Regions from separate parts of the Homo sapiens genome. Here all the other regions are linked to region 1. The links are contacts of gene promoters, found by promoter capture Hi-C in blood cells and fetal thymus (Javierre and others, 2016). All regions are on one chromosome and are shown on one strand. The core of a region is centred on a gene start or on the middle of the fragment in contact, and the rest is flanking DNA. Distances in the headings are between cores, read along the strand shown.

Region 1 (3,975 bases), core at 1,455-3,954:
GTATTTTTTAGTAGAGACAGGGTTTCATCATGTTGGCCAGGCTGGTCTCGAACTCCTGACCTCAGGTGATCCACCTACCTCAGCCTCCCAAAGTGTTGGGATTACAGGGGTGAGCCACCACCACACCCACTGAATTATATTTTCTTATAGTCTGGAAATTTGGAAATCCAAGATCAAGGCACTAATACTCAGTGTCTGATGAGGGCATTCTTGCTGCATCCTCATTTGGTTGAGGCAAGAGAGAGTAGAGTTTAGTTCCTTCCAGCACTTTAATAAAATCACTAATCCCCCCCCACCCAGTTTACTCATGATTTAATCACCTGCTAAAGGTCCCAACTCTTAATGCTATCACATTGGTGATTACGTTTCAAGCAGTTGGGGGGATATTCAGCACATTGCAATACGGTTTTAAACTTTTTCATTTTTCAATTTATTTTTTCATAGAGATGGTCTCACTATGGTGCCCAGGTTGGTCTCACACTCCTGGCCTCAAGCCACCCTCTTGCCTCAGTCTCCCAAAGCACGGCAATTACAGGCTTGAGCAACTGCACCCAGCCTGAACTTTTTTTTTTTTTTTCTTTTTGAGACAGAGTCTTGCTCTGTCGCCCGGACTGGAGTGCAGCAGAGTGATCTCGGCTCACTGCAGCCTCCGCCTCCCGGGTTCAAGCGATTCTCCTGCCTCAGCCTCCGGAGTAGCTGGGATTACAGGCGTGCCCCACCACGCCTGGCTAATTTTTTTTTGGTATTTTTAGTAAAGACCGGGTTTCACCATGTTGGCCAGGCTGGTCTTCAACTCCTGATCTCAGGTGATCCACCCGCCTCAGCCTCCCACAGTGCTGGGATTACAGGTGTGAGCCACTGCGCACAGCCCAAACTGATCCTTTAAAATTCAAATTTAATTCAGCTCCACACATACTTTGTGTTTTGGGGCAAATTATTCCAGCTCTCTTAAGTCTCTTTTATCTCATCTCTATTAACAAGTTGACAATAATGGCTCCTACCCCAGAGGCTGAGACAAATAATGTTAAAACTCACTACAATGCTTGGCACACGGTAGGTGCTCCATGGATGTCTGCTATTATTTTTTGCTTTTAATAGTAACATAATTTACATTACTAGTTATTATTATATGCTAAGCTCTGTTTTAAGTGCAGCCAAGATGAAGTTTAACTGCCTTGCCCAAAGTCAGGCAGCTAAGCAGTGGCACTGGTGGACTATGAACCCAAGCACTGGACTTTTAACCACCTCTCACTTGCATGATCCTCCAGTTGCCCTCTTAGAACCACTGTGCCTTCTCAGAGACTTCAGCTGAAATCCAACTTCTGAGAATGCTTCTAGGGTTCGCCAGAACCCGCCTTTGCTAGCCTCCCTAGGATTATCTCTTGTGACCAGCACCTTCACTGACAGCTCCAGTCTTTTTTTTTTTTTTTTGAGACGGAGTCTCACTCTGTCACCCAGGCTGGAATGCAATGGCGAGATCTCGGCTCACTGCAACCTTCACCTCCCAGGTCCAAGTGATTCTCCTGCCTCATTCTCCCGAGTAGCTGAGGTTACAGGCGCCTGCCACTACGCCTGGCTAATTTTTGTATTTTTAGTAGAGACAGGGTTTCACCATGTCGGCCAGGCTGGTCTCGAACTCCTGACCTCAAGTGATCCGCCTGCCTCGGCCTTGGCCCATAGTGTTGGGATTACTGGCGTGAGCAACCGCGCCCGGCTATCAGCTCCAGTCTTACCACGATTAGTTTTTCACGTGCCCAGCCTCAAAGACTTAAACTCTTTGCTCCCTTACGGAGATACCCTTTCCTTCACCTTGCTTGCTCCCGTTGACTCCTCAAGAAACCTTTCTTATGTCGGGCGCAGCGGCTCAAGCCTGCAATCCAGCACTTTGGGAGGCCGAGGCGGGCGGATCACTTGAGCCCAGGAGTTCGAGACCAGCCTCGCTAACATGGTGAAACCCCATTCTACTAAAAATACAAAAATTAGCCGGGCTTGGTGGCGCGGGCCTGCAGTCCCAGCTACTCGGGAGGCTGAGGTAGGAGAATCGCTTGAACCCGGGAGACGGAGGTTGCAGTGAGCAGAGATCGCGCCGCTGCACTCCAGCCTGGGAGACAGAGCGAGACTTGGTCTCAGAAAAATAAAACAAAACAAAGAAAAACAAAACTTTACTTGACAACCCAACGACCACTACCACTACAGCCGCCCTAGGACTCCCGCTCTCTGAGGTCCTACAGCACTTCGCATTTCCCTCAACGCCGCACTGAGAACTCTGCATTGTGTACTCGTCTGTCACCAATCTGCGAGTTACAAAGCAGAGACTAACTTATTTGGTTTAGCATTTAATAGGCACATAATCAACATTTACTGTTCAATTGAAACAAAATTAAAATTGGGCGCTGTCTCTATCTTTATTTGTGATCGGCCCTAACTGCACTGGCAATCTTTTCCGTTTTTTTGTTTTCTGTTTTCCATTCGCATGCCCCTTAGCGTACCTGGGGCTCCGGCTCCTTTACAAATGAAACCCAAAGTGCTCCGCAAGCACAGCCAGCGAAAGCGAAAAACTCTGAAACGGACAAGATGGCTGCCACCTCTTCGCGCCTCTTAGTCCCACCCACTCAGGGCGGAGGTCTGCGTCATGTGACCCTCCCCTTCTTGGCTCCGCCTCCTACCGCAGTGCTTGACGGGAGGCGGAGCGGGGAACGAGGCCGTCGGCCATTTTGTGTCTGCTTCCTGTGGGACGTGGTGGTAGCCGTTGGGTTGGGAAAGTGAGGGATTTTTGGCCTCGTTTCTCCTGCTTCTTTTCTCCTCCCTTTTACTTTGCCGGTAGAACACAGTTATGGGTCGCAAGAAGAAGAAGCAGCTGAAGCCGTGGTGCTGGTATCCTTTGTCGGTTTGAAGTCGAGGTCGCGTTGGGGTGCCGGTTGTTGGGGCCTGGGACTAGGAGGCCTGGATTTGGCTTACGGCGTGGAGCGTTTGTATTTAGGCGTCTGCGTGGGTGGCCTGGTGGCTGGGATTGGACTTGGGAAGGCTTCTAGGAAAATGGGGTTCCGAGGTCGACAGGCTTTTGCAGTTGTGGGTCGTGTGACTCTGTGACTCAGGAGGATCTTGTTCGGTGCGAATTTTGGACTCCGGGAGGCGGCCTGGACCCCTCCGCCAGGGACAGTGTCCCCTAGGGACTATTCAGCCACCTTCCGTTGTTTTGGTGACGATTCAACAAGGGACTTTTCTTCGAGTGCGATAGGCTTATTACTTTCATGGAGGGTTGGGGACAGCTTCACAGTCTGTCACCCACTTTTTCTGTTTTTATTTACTTTATGTGTGTTTTGTGTTTATTTTTTCGAATTGGCGGTTTAGTAAAGAACCAAGTTAGTCAACCCTGGTTTCGAACCTTTTTTTTTTTTTTTTTCTTTTCGGGGCGGGAGGAGAACTAGCTTCCGTGTCTCACCCAGAGGCGCCTTAATCTTCAGGAAGCGTTCTCACAGGGCGGAGTTTCTGTTACCCAACTTTGTAGGACTAAAAAGTGCCTATCTTATTAGGAAAACTCTTACTACAGTGTGGTATTAATGCTTTTTCTGGAAGCGTTAATATTCTTTACATTAAAATTGATTTTATTTACTGTTTTGTACGTAAAGGCGGCTTGTTACAGTACTGCGTTTATGTAACAGTTTTAAAAATAGCTTAAATACGGTTACGAATTTTGTAATGTGATTTTAGGAAAATCTGAGTAGTGAGGTAAGAATTCTGTTTTATTGATGTAAGAATTCTGCTTTATTGATTTTATTGATCTGTGAATTTAAATACATTGCTTGGCAACATAAATTCATACGGAATTGGAAACAACTTTATGGATTGTTCATTCGAAATTATGTGATTATTGTTCACCATATAGTTACTCTTAGATTCTAAATATTGCTAAATTCCTAATCCAGTTATTGCTATCGTCTTCATATCTAGTGAAGTAATTGTCTTGACAGAACC
Region 2 (3,793 bases), core at 1-2,500, 3.7 Mb before region 1:
TTGAGTGGGCAGAGCAGTGGCAGGTTGCTAAAAGGCTGTTTGTGGGAAGGTTTAAGAGCCCTCTGTACAATCATGTGTCCGTTTTTTTATCCTTCACTCTTTTCTTTCCCTAGTTATCTTCAGGCAGAGTGAGAAGCTGCAGCAATGTCTGATTTTGTGGAAAGCGAGGCTGAGGAGTCAGAGGAAGAATACAATGATGAAGGCGAGGTGGTACCCCGAGTCACCAAGAAATTTGTGGAAGAGGAGGATGATGGTGAGGAGGCCCCAGCCTCAAGCTTCTCCCCACTATTGCTAAGCTTTGGATAGTTGGATTCTTGCTGATGAAAAGCTCAGGCTCAGCACAGAAGTTATCACACATGAGGTACCAGCTTGAGAACTTTCAGTCATTCTTAGCAGATACTAACTGAGCATCTGTCTGTATGCCAGGCACTAGGCCTGGAACTAGAAATATAAAACAATAAATATCCAGCTATTGTGGAGTTTACTTTAGTTGGGGGGTGGTTGATAATAAATCAGTAGATAAGTCTGTATATAATACTTTCTGCTTTTAGACCTAGCATTGTTGATATTTATTCACCTCGTTTCCTATTTCTCTGGCCAAGCCCAATCTTTAGAATTGTCAACAGAGTAGAACCACGAAATGACTTCAAAGGGGTAAAGGGACGTACAAGTTTTATCAAAGGAATTATGGCAAAAAAAAGGAATATAGCTGCTGAGTTTACAAACTGAGTAAAACAAAGTTATTGGTGGCTATAATAATCTAGTAATGATTTTGAGAAGCCAAAGTGACGGGGAAGATCATCCTGCCCAAAGACAGATGGTGAATGTAGGGGAAGAAAACATTCTTTCCAGATGCTGCTACTCTAAGTCAATGGCTATGTTTTGCATCTTTACATGAGGCAGAAGAGTTAACATGGCACCCAGGTCATTAGGTGCAGAGCAAATGGATAATCACATTAATCAAGTGACCCTGAACCTCTAGCCTGTTTTTCAGTCTCCATGCCTCAAACATGCATGTCTTCCAGATGAGGAGGAGGAGGAGGAGAACCTAGATGATCAGGATGAGCAAGGCAACTTGAAAGGCTTTATCAATGACGATGATGATGAAGATGAAGGGGAGGAGGATGAGGGCAGTGACTCTGGTGATTCAGAAGATGATGTTGGCCACAAGAAGAGAAAACGCAGTGAGTAGTCTGTCGTTGGCTCAAGTGAGGCTTGGGTGGAGGTTGCAGTGGAAAAGGGCAACCCCATCACCATGGGCAACACTTTGTTTCTTCAGCCTCTTTTGATGACCGCCTGGAGGATGATGATTTTGACCTCATTGAGGAGAATTTGGGTGTCAAAGTCAAAAGAGGAGTAAGTGTCATTCTTTGTCTTTTGTCCCTGGGGGTAAAGGAAAAAGCCCTGGAAATTTCAATGTCTGTGGGTGAGGAGGCACACGCAGGACAGTTTGGAGAACATTAGAGCACGGTGTTCGGTATCATTGTACTACGGAGCCTAGATTTGCATCCCAGATCTGGGTGCCTGTTAGAGAAAGTCTTGTCCAAGTTTCAAGGATGGGCTTTGAGGCTACAAGAGCATCACTCGGCATGTTCTTTCCCATCTCTCTTGGTCAGAGTAATTGTGGTGGGAAGAAGGGAGTGAGACTGGAGATTTGGTATCCGTATGCCAGACTCCTCAGATCCTGATAAGGCAGGTTTTCCCACCCCTAGCAAAAGTACCGGCGTGTCAAAAAAATGTCAGATGACGAGGACGATGACGAGGAGGAATATGGCAAGGAGGAACATGAAAAAGAAGCTATTGCGGAAGAAATCTTCCAGGATGGGGAAGGGGAAGAAGGGCAGGAGGCCATGGAGGCCCCCATGGCTCCTCCAGAGGAGGAGGAAGAAGATGATGAGGAGTCAGGTATGTTATATTGGGCAGGGAAGCCAGTGTTTGGATGGGTATTGGGATTTCCTGGCCCATGGGAACAGGATGGAAACCATTCTTTAGCTACATCCCCCAGCATTTGACACAAAGAAGTTCCTTTTCAGGAGCTTCCCTTCTCTGTTGCTCACTGGCCACTCACATAGTAGGAACCAAAGCAATTTAGTCCTGGCTCAGCCCCTGACTCTGAGCCCCAACCCATCCTTTTCCTACCCAGATATTGACGACTTCATTGTGGATGATGATGGACAGCCTCTGAAAAAACCTAAGTGGCGGAAAAAGCTTCCTGGATACACAGACGCGTGAGTGGGGTCTGGTACAAGGTGGGGATAAAGTGATTGAGTGGGCCCAGTCAGGAAGGAGGAGATCAGAGGCCTTTGCCAAAAATGGGGCATTCCCAGCTTGCAGCCATTTTGCTTCCCTGCCTCAAATAACCTCTACCAGGCAGTGATTTCAGACTGCTCCCGGAAGCCCTGGGAGCTGTCTCTGCACTCTAGGACTACTGTGGGATTGGAGTAGAGTCCCACATGGGCAAGGCTCCAGCATTCCTCTTCCGCCTACAGCTCCATGTTTATTCAATTATATATATATTGACATTCTTAATATATTTTTGTTGGAAGACAAATGCCCGCATCACAATTTACAAATTTGAAAGCTTTTGCCCTGAGGGAATACTGTAATGCCTTAGCAGAAGATGGGTCCACTGAGCAAGACATAGACCCGTCTGCTCTGTTGCTATTTGATTACTGTCACTCGAAGGTGCCAAAGATGAGCTTTTTAATCTTCCATATACAATAGTTTGCCCAGAAATATCCGCCAATGAAGCCTTTCGTCCACAGTGAATATGGTTATTTTGTTTACCTTCCTCCTAACCCTCTCAGTTCCCTTGGGACAAGTAAAGGATCTATGCAAGGGCTGCATTTCTCTCCTCTCACCTGAACCTGAGCCACCTGCCTCTTGCTGCCACCTACAGGGCCCTGCAAGAAGCCCAGGAAATCTTCGGTGTGGACTTTGACTATGATGAATTTGAGAAATACAATGAGTATGATGAAGAACTGGAGGAAGAGTATGAGTATGAGGATGATGAGGCTGAGGGTGAAATCCGAGTGCGCCCCAAGAAGACCACCAAGAAGCGTGTGAGCCGTAGGAGCATCTTTGAAATGTATGAGCCCAGTGAGCTAGAAAGCAGCCACCTCACAGATCAGGACAATGAAATCCGAGCCACTGACCTGCCTGAGAGGTTCCAGGTAAAAAACCACCAGCCTCTGCTCTTCTACCAATCCATAATTACCTTGTAGCCAAGAAATATTCTAGCAAAAGTCTGGCATTGAGTATCCAGCACAGGTTTGAACCTCATCTCACCTGGGGCCTGGGAAATCCAGCTCTTAGAGAAGGGAAGATAGACTCTACCTTGCTTACGGTTCTAGAAATACTGTTTTCTTTAGAAATCTGTGAAATGCAGTCTGGGTGCTGTGGCTCACACCTATAATCCCAGCACTTTAGGAGGCCAGGGTGGCAGATTGCTTGAGTCCAGGAACTCAAGACCAGCCTGGGCAACATAGGGAGATCTTGTCTCTACAAAAAATACAAAAAACTAGCTGGTTGTGATGGTGCACACCTGTAGTTTCAGCCACTCAGGAGGCTGAGGTGGGAAGATTGCTTGAACTTGGGAGGTCACGGCTGCAGTGAGCCATCATTGCACCACTGCACTGCAGCCTAGAAGCAGACCCTGTCTCAAAAAAAAAAAACCATGAAATGCTTATGGCCAGGCACGGTGGTTCACACCTGTAATCCCAGCACTTTGGAAGGCCAAGGTGGGTGGATCACCTGAGGTCAGGAGTTCGAGACCAGCCTGGCCAACATTGTG
Region 3 (4,148 bases), core at 700-3,199, 3.7 Mb before region 1:
GAATAACACAGCAAGAACCCATCTTAAAAAAAAAAGAAAAAGAAAAAGAAAGCTCATTTAACTTAATATATGTAGATACAGATGGCTATGCAAATAAAAATTTATAGATATGTAATATATACACGAGTAAGCACACACAGGTAACAATTCTTTATTTTTTTAATTTTTTTTTGAGACAGAGTCTCGCCCTGTCACCCAGGCTGGAATGCAATGGTGCAATCTCGGCTCACTGCAACCTCCGCCTCCCAGGTTCAAACGATTCTCCTACCTCGGCCTCCCAAGTAGCTGGGATCACAGGCTCCCGCCACCATGCCCAGCTAATTTTTGTACTTTAGTAGATACGGGGTTTCACCATGTTAGCCAGGCTGGTCTCGAACTCCTGACCTTGTGATCCACCCACCTCTGCCTCACAAAGTGCCGGGATTATAGGTGTGAGCCACTGCGCCTGGCTTACAGTTATTTATTCTGTCAAGTGAGAGGGCCTAAAAGAAACACTCCAGTAGCAACAAGCTTACATAAGGCCTAGAACTTGGTTTTAATATCATTCTCCAATAAAAGGAAGCAGAGCTCCTTGGAGAAACAGCTGATTCTAGTACTGGAGCAAGAAATAAACAAGATGAGCCTGGAGCATCTTTTGGTGCCAGAAAGGAAAGAAGTGCTTTAAAGTGCAGGCACATATACACAAAAACACAATGGGATACTGCCAATGGACACAAAGCCAGCTGAAAGAATTCCCAATGGCCAAAGTTGGAACAATTTGAGCAACAAAATATAGTAGCATTAGATTATAACGAAGTATAAACTATCCATAAGTTTATACTAATGTAAATAACTGAATAAATAAATAAATTGGGGAAAAGAGACAAATCCCCAATATGGAAAAATCCCAAATAAAATATGTAGATATTCCACCCTAATGTAGACAGAGTATAACTCTCCAGTCTGTAAGAGTGAAATGCACATAGTGACTTTCTTCCAAAAAGTGCATGGAAAGGGGGAAAATGAAAAGAATAACTTTACAGGAGAAACCTAACGAACAAACACTACTTCAGCCAGGTAATCAAGGTCCACATCAACAGTCATAAATCATAAAGATAGTATGTACCCCTGATATGATGGGATACAAATGGCACTTTACCTCTGTGATCTTCCTCCCAAACCCTTTATAAGTCCGGTCTAATCACAAGAAAAACAAATTCCAACAGAGGGGCAATCTACAATACACCTGACCAGCACTCCTCAAAGCTGTCAAGGTCATCAAAAACTAGGGAAGCCTGAAAAACTGTCACAGCCAAGAACAGCCTAATGAGACATGGCAAGTATATGTAATGTGGTATTTTGGAATGGAAAAAGAACATTAGGTAAAAACTAAGGGACCGGGCACGGAGGCCTCACGCCTGTAATCCCAGCAGTTTGGGAGGCCAAGGTGGGTGGATCACAAGGTCAGGAGCTCGAGACCAACCTGGACAACATGGTGAAACCCCGTCTCTACTGAAAATACAAAAATCAGCCGGGCGTGGTGGCAGGCACCTGTAATCCCAGCTACTCAGGAGGCTGTGGCAAGAGAATAGCTTGAACCTGGGAGGCGGAGGTTGCAGTGAGCTGAGATCGCGCCATAGCACTCCAGCCTGGGACAGAGCGAGACTCTGTCTCAAAAAACAAAACAAAACAAAACAAAACAAGGGAATCAGAAAAAAACTATGGTCTTTAGTTAATAAAACTGTATCAATATTGCTTCATTAAATATAGCAAATTTACCCTTCGAAGGTAAGATATTAATAGGGAAAACTGCATACAGGGGCTGGGGACAGGGAAGGAGTCATTAAGGTGTCCACATCCCCTGACAACTCAAGGCTTAAAACAGTGGCACAAGGCTGGGTGTACTGGCTTATGCTTGTAATCCCAGCACTTTGGGAGGCTGAGGCAGGCAGATAGCTTGAGCTCAGGAGTTTGAGACCAGCCTAGGCAACATGGCAAAACCCCGTATCTACCAAAAAAAATACAAAAATTAGCCAGGCATGGTGGCGTGAGCCTGTAGTGAGGGCTGAGGTGGGAGAATTGCTTGAGCCCAGGAGGCTGAGGCTGCAGTGAGCAAGATCACACTACAACCTGGGTGACAGAGCAAGACCCTGTTTAAAAACAAAAAACAGTGACACAAAAGCAAATCTATTTTCCTAATGTAACTAGTTAGCATCATTAAAAAAAAAAAAAACACTGCAAGTTGGAAAACATTGGGTTTCTTTATTGCAGAATATCAGAACTTATGATATGCTGATGTATACCCAGTCTGTCTGTCCTTCCCATTTCTTGATTTGGTTTAGTTGTTGTCTCCACTTTGACCAGAAACAATTTTCTTCACACTTATAAAACAAAGCCGGCTGGGTGCAGTGGCTCATGCCTATAATCCCAACACTTCCAGGAGGCAGAGGCGGGTGGATCACCTGAGGTCAGGAGTTCGAGACCAGCCTGACCAATATGGTGAAAACCCATCTCTACTAAAAATACAAAAATCAGGCCAGGCGCGGTGACTTGCACTTGTAATCCCAGCACTTTGGGAGGCCGAAGTGGGCAGATCACAAGGTCAGGAGTTCGAGACCAGCCTGGCCAACACAGTGAAACCCCATCTCTACTAAAAATACAAAAAAAAAAATTAGCCAGGTGTGGTGGCACACGCCTGTAGTCCCAGCCACTCGGGCAGCTGAGGTGGGAGAACCGCTTGAACGCAGGAGGCAGAGGTTGCAATGAGCTGAGACCATGCCATTGCACTCCAGCCTGGGTGACAGAGTGAGACTCCATCTCAAAAAAATAAAAATAAAAACAAAAATTAGCCAGGCATGGTGGCATGCGCCTGTAATCCCAGCTACTTGGGAGACTGAGGCAGGAGACTTGCTTGAACCCAGAGGCGGAGGTTGCAGTGAGCCAAGATCATGCCACTGCACTGCAGCCTGGGTGACAGAGTGAGACTGCGTCTCAAAAACAACAAAAACCCACACAAAAATAGAGCCATTTCCCCAGGTCTGCACAAAAGAGAACATCTACACCTAGAAAAGAAACATTTAAGAACCAAGAGATCAAACAAGCACCCACTGAGTAATGCAGAGCAGCAACAATCCATCGAAAGCCACCTCACCTGGTTTCCAGAAAGAGGTGAAGTGAAGTGGTGACTATGGAGGTTTCGGCCAGTGTTGACATGTGTCAGCCGGATGGGCTGGCCACACTTGATGGGGGTTCCCCTCTCACACACTGTGGCACTCTTCCCCCGTATCCTCCAGTAACTGTTGCTGTCATCCACAGAGGTTACACCTGTCACTGACTGCTGCCCACTACCTGCAGTTAAGAAAAGAAAGGCAACTCTCTTTCTCTGCCATGGACAACATGCTCAGAGACAGAAGCTTGAGTGCGCTCAAGATTCACCTTCACCTGTAACCCACCACCATGACCAAGGAAGACACGCTGCTGGAGGTGTAATGGATATTAATACTGCTCTACAAGAGACTGAAGACCGCCCTCAGCCATGATGGCCTAGCAGGTGGAACCTGCAAAGCTGCCAAAGCCTTAGACAAGGGCCAAGCCCATCTTTGCGTGCTTGCATCCAAATGTGAAGAGCCTATGTATGTCAAGCTAGGGGTGGCCCTTTGTGCCGAACACCAAATCAACCCAATTAAGGTTGATGACCTTAAGAAACCAGAGACATGGCTAAGCCTTTGTAAAACTGATAGACAAGGAAAACTTTGTAAAGTGGTTGGTTGCAGTTGTGTCACAGTGAAGGGCTACAGCAAAGAATTTCAGGCCAAGGATGTGACTGTGTACTTCAAATGCAAGAAATTAACAAATAAATTTGGTACCCATTCCTCAAAAAAAAAAACAGCAAGTGAGCTCAGCCTCACCCTTCTTGCCTATGGCCAATATTGTGCCGTGTCATTAAACAGGTAAGAAGGGGTGGGGAGAAAAATGCTATGCTTGGCAATATTTTTTCTTCTACAACATTAAAATATTTATAAAAAATACAAATCATACTGGGCGTGGTGGCTCACGCTTGTAATCCCAGCACTCTGGGAGTGAAACTTGACCTCCCAAAGTGCTGGGATTGATGGTGAGCCACTGTGCCCAGCCTTTTTCTTCTTTTAAATAAAAAAAAAATTTTTTAG

Evidence for each region. The method cuts DNA at HindIII sites, captures the fragments that hold promoters and counts their contacts. A CHiCAGO score of 5 or more calls a contact.
Region 2: a fragment that was not itself captured here is called in contact with the fragment with the promoter of ZNF207 in region 1 in 1 of 17 cell types (neutrophils); the score reaches 6.8 in neutrophils.
Region 3: a contact is called between a fragment that was not itself captured here and the fragment with the promoter of ZNF207 in region 1, in 1 of 17 cell types (neutrophils). The highest score is 6.2, in neutrophils.

The regions. Positions count from the first base shown.
Region 1 is chr17:32,347,453-32,351,427 of GRCh38, forward strand. ZNF207 (zinc finger protein 207) reads left to right here and starts at 2,705. Exons shown (of 12, transcript NM_001098507.2): 1 at 2,705-2,874. The coding sequence starts at 2,834. It overlaps MIR632 (microRNA 632), which reads left to right and starts at 2,657; the gene lies at 2,657-2,750. It also overlaps a transcript of C17orf75 not described here. RefSeq lists enhancers at 2,155-2,274, 2,445-2,794. The HindIII fragment of the contact is 13,651 bases long and covers 1-3,975 here.
Region 2 is chr17:28,673,258-28,677,050 of GRCh38, forward strand. SUPT6H (SPT6 homolog, histone chaperone and transcription elongation factor) reads left to right here. Exons shown (of 37, transcript NM_003170.5): 2 at 114-253; 3 at 1,026-1,184; 4 at 1,280-1,356; 5 at 1,713-1,905; 6 at 2,144-2,228; 7 at 2,900-3,173. The coding sequence starts at 145. Among named protein-coding and RNA genes, the nearest start is that of SUPT6H, 13 kb to the left of the region's middle. The HindIII fragment of the contact is 1,912 bases long and covers 295-2,206 here.
Region 3 is chr17:28,652,157-28,656,304 of GRCh38, forward strand. It overlaps SDF2 (stromal cell derived factor 2), which reads right to left. Exons shown (of 3, transcript NM_006923.4): 2 at 3,131-3,327. It also overlaps the pseudogene RPS12P28. Among named protein-coding and RNA genes, the nearest start is that of SDF2, 7.7 kb to the right of the region's middle. The HindIII fragment of the contact is 2,882 bases long and covers 509-3,390 here.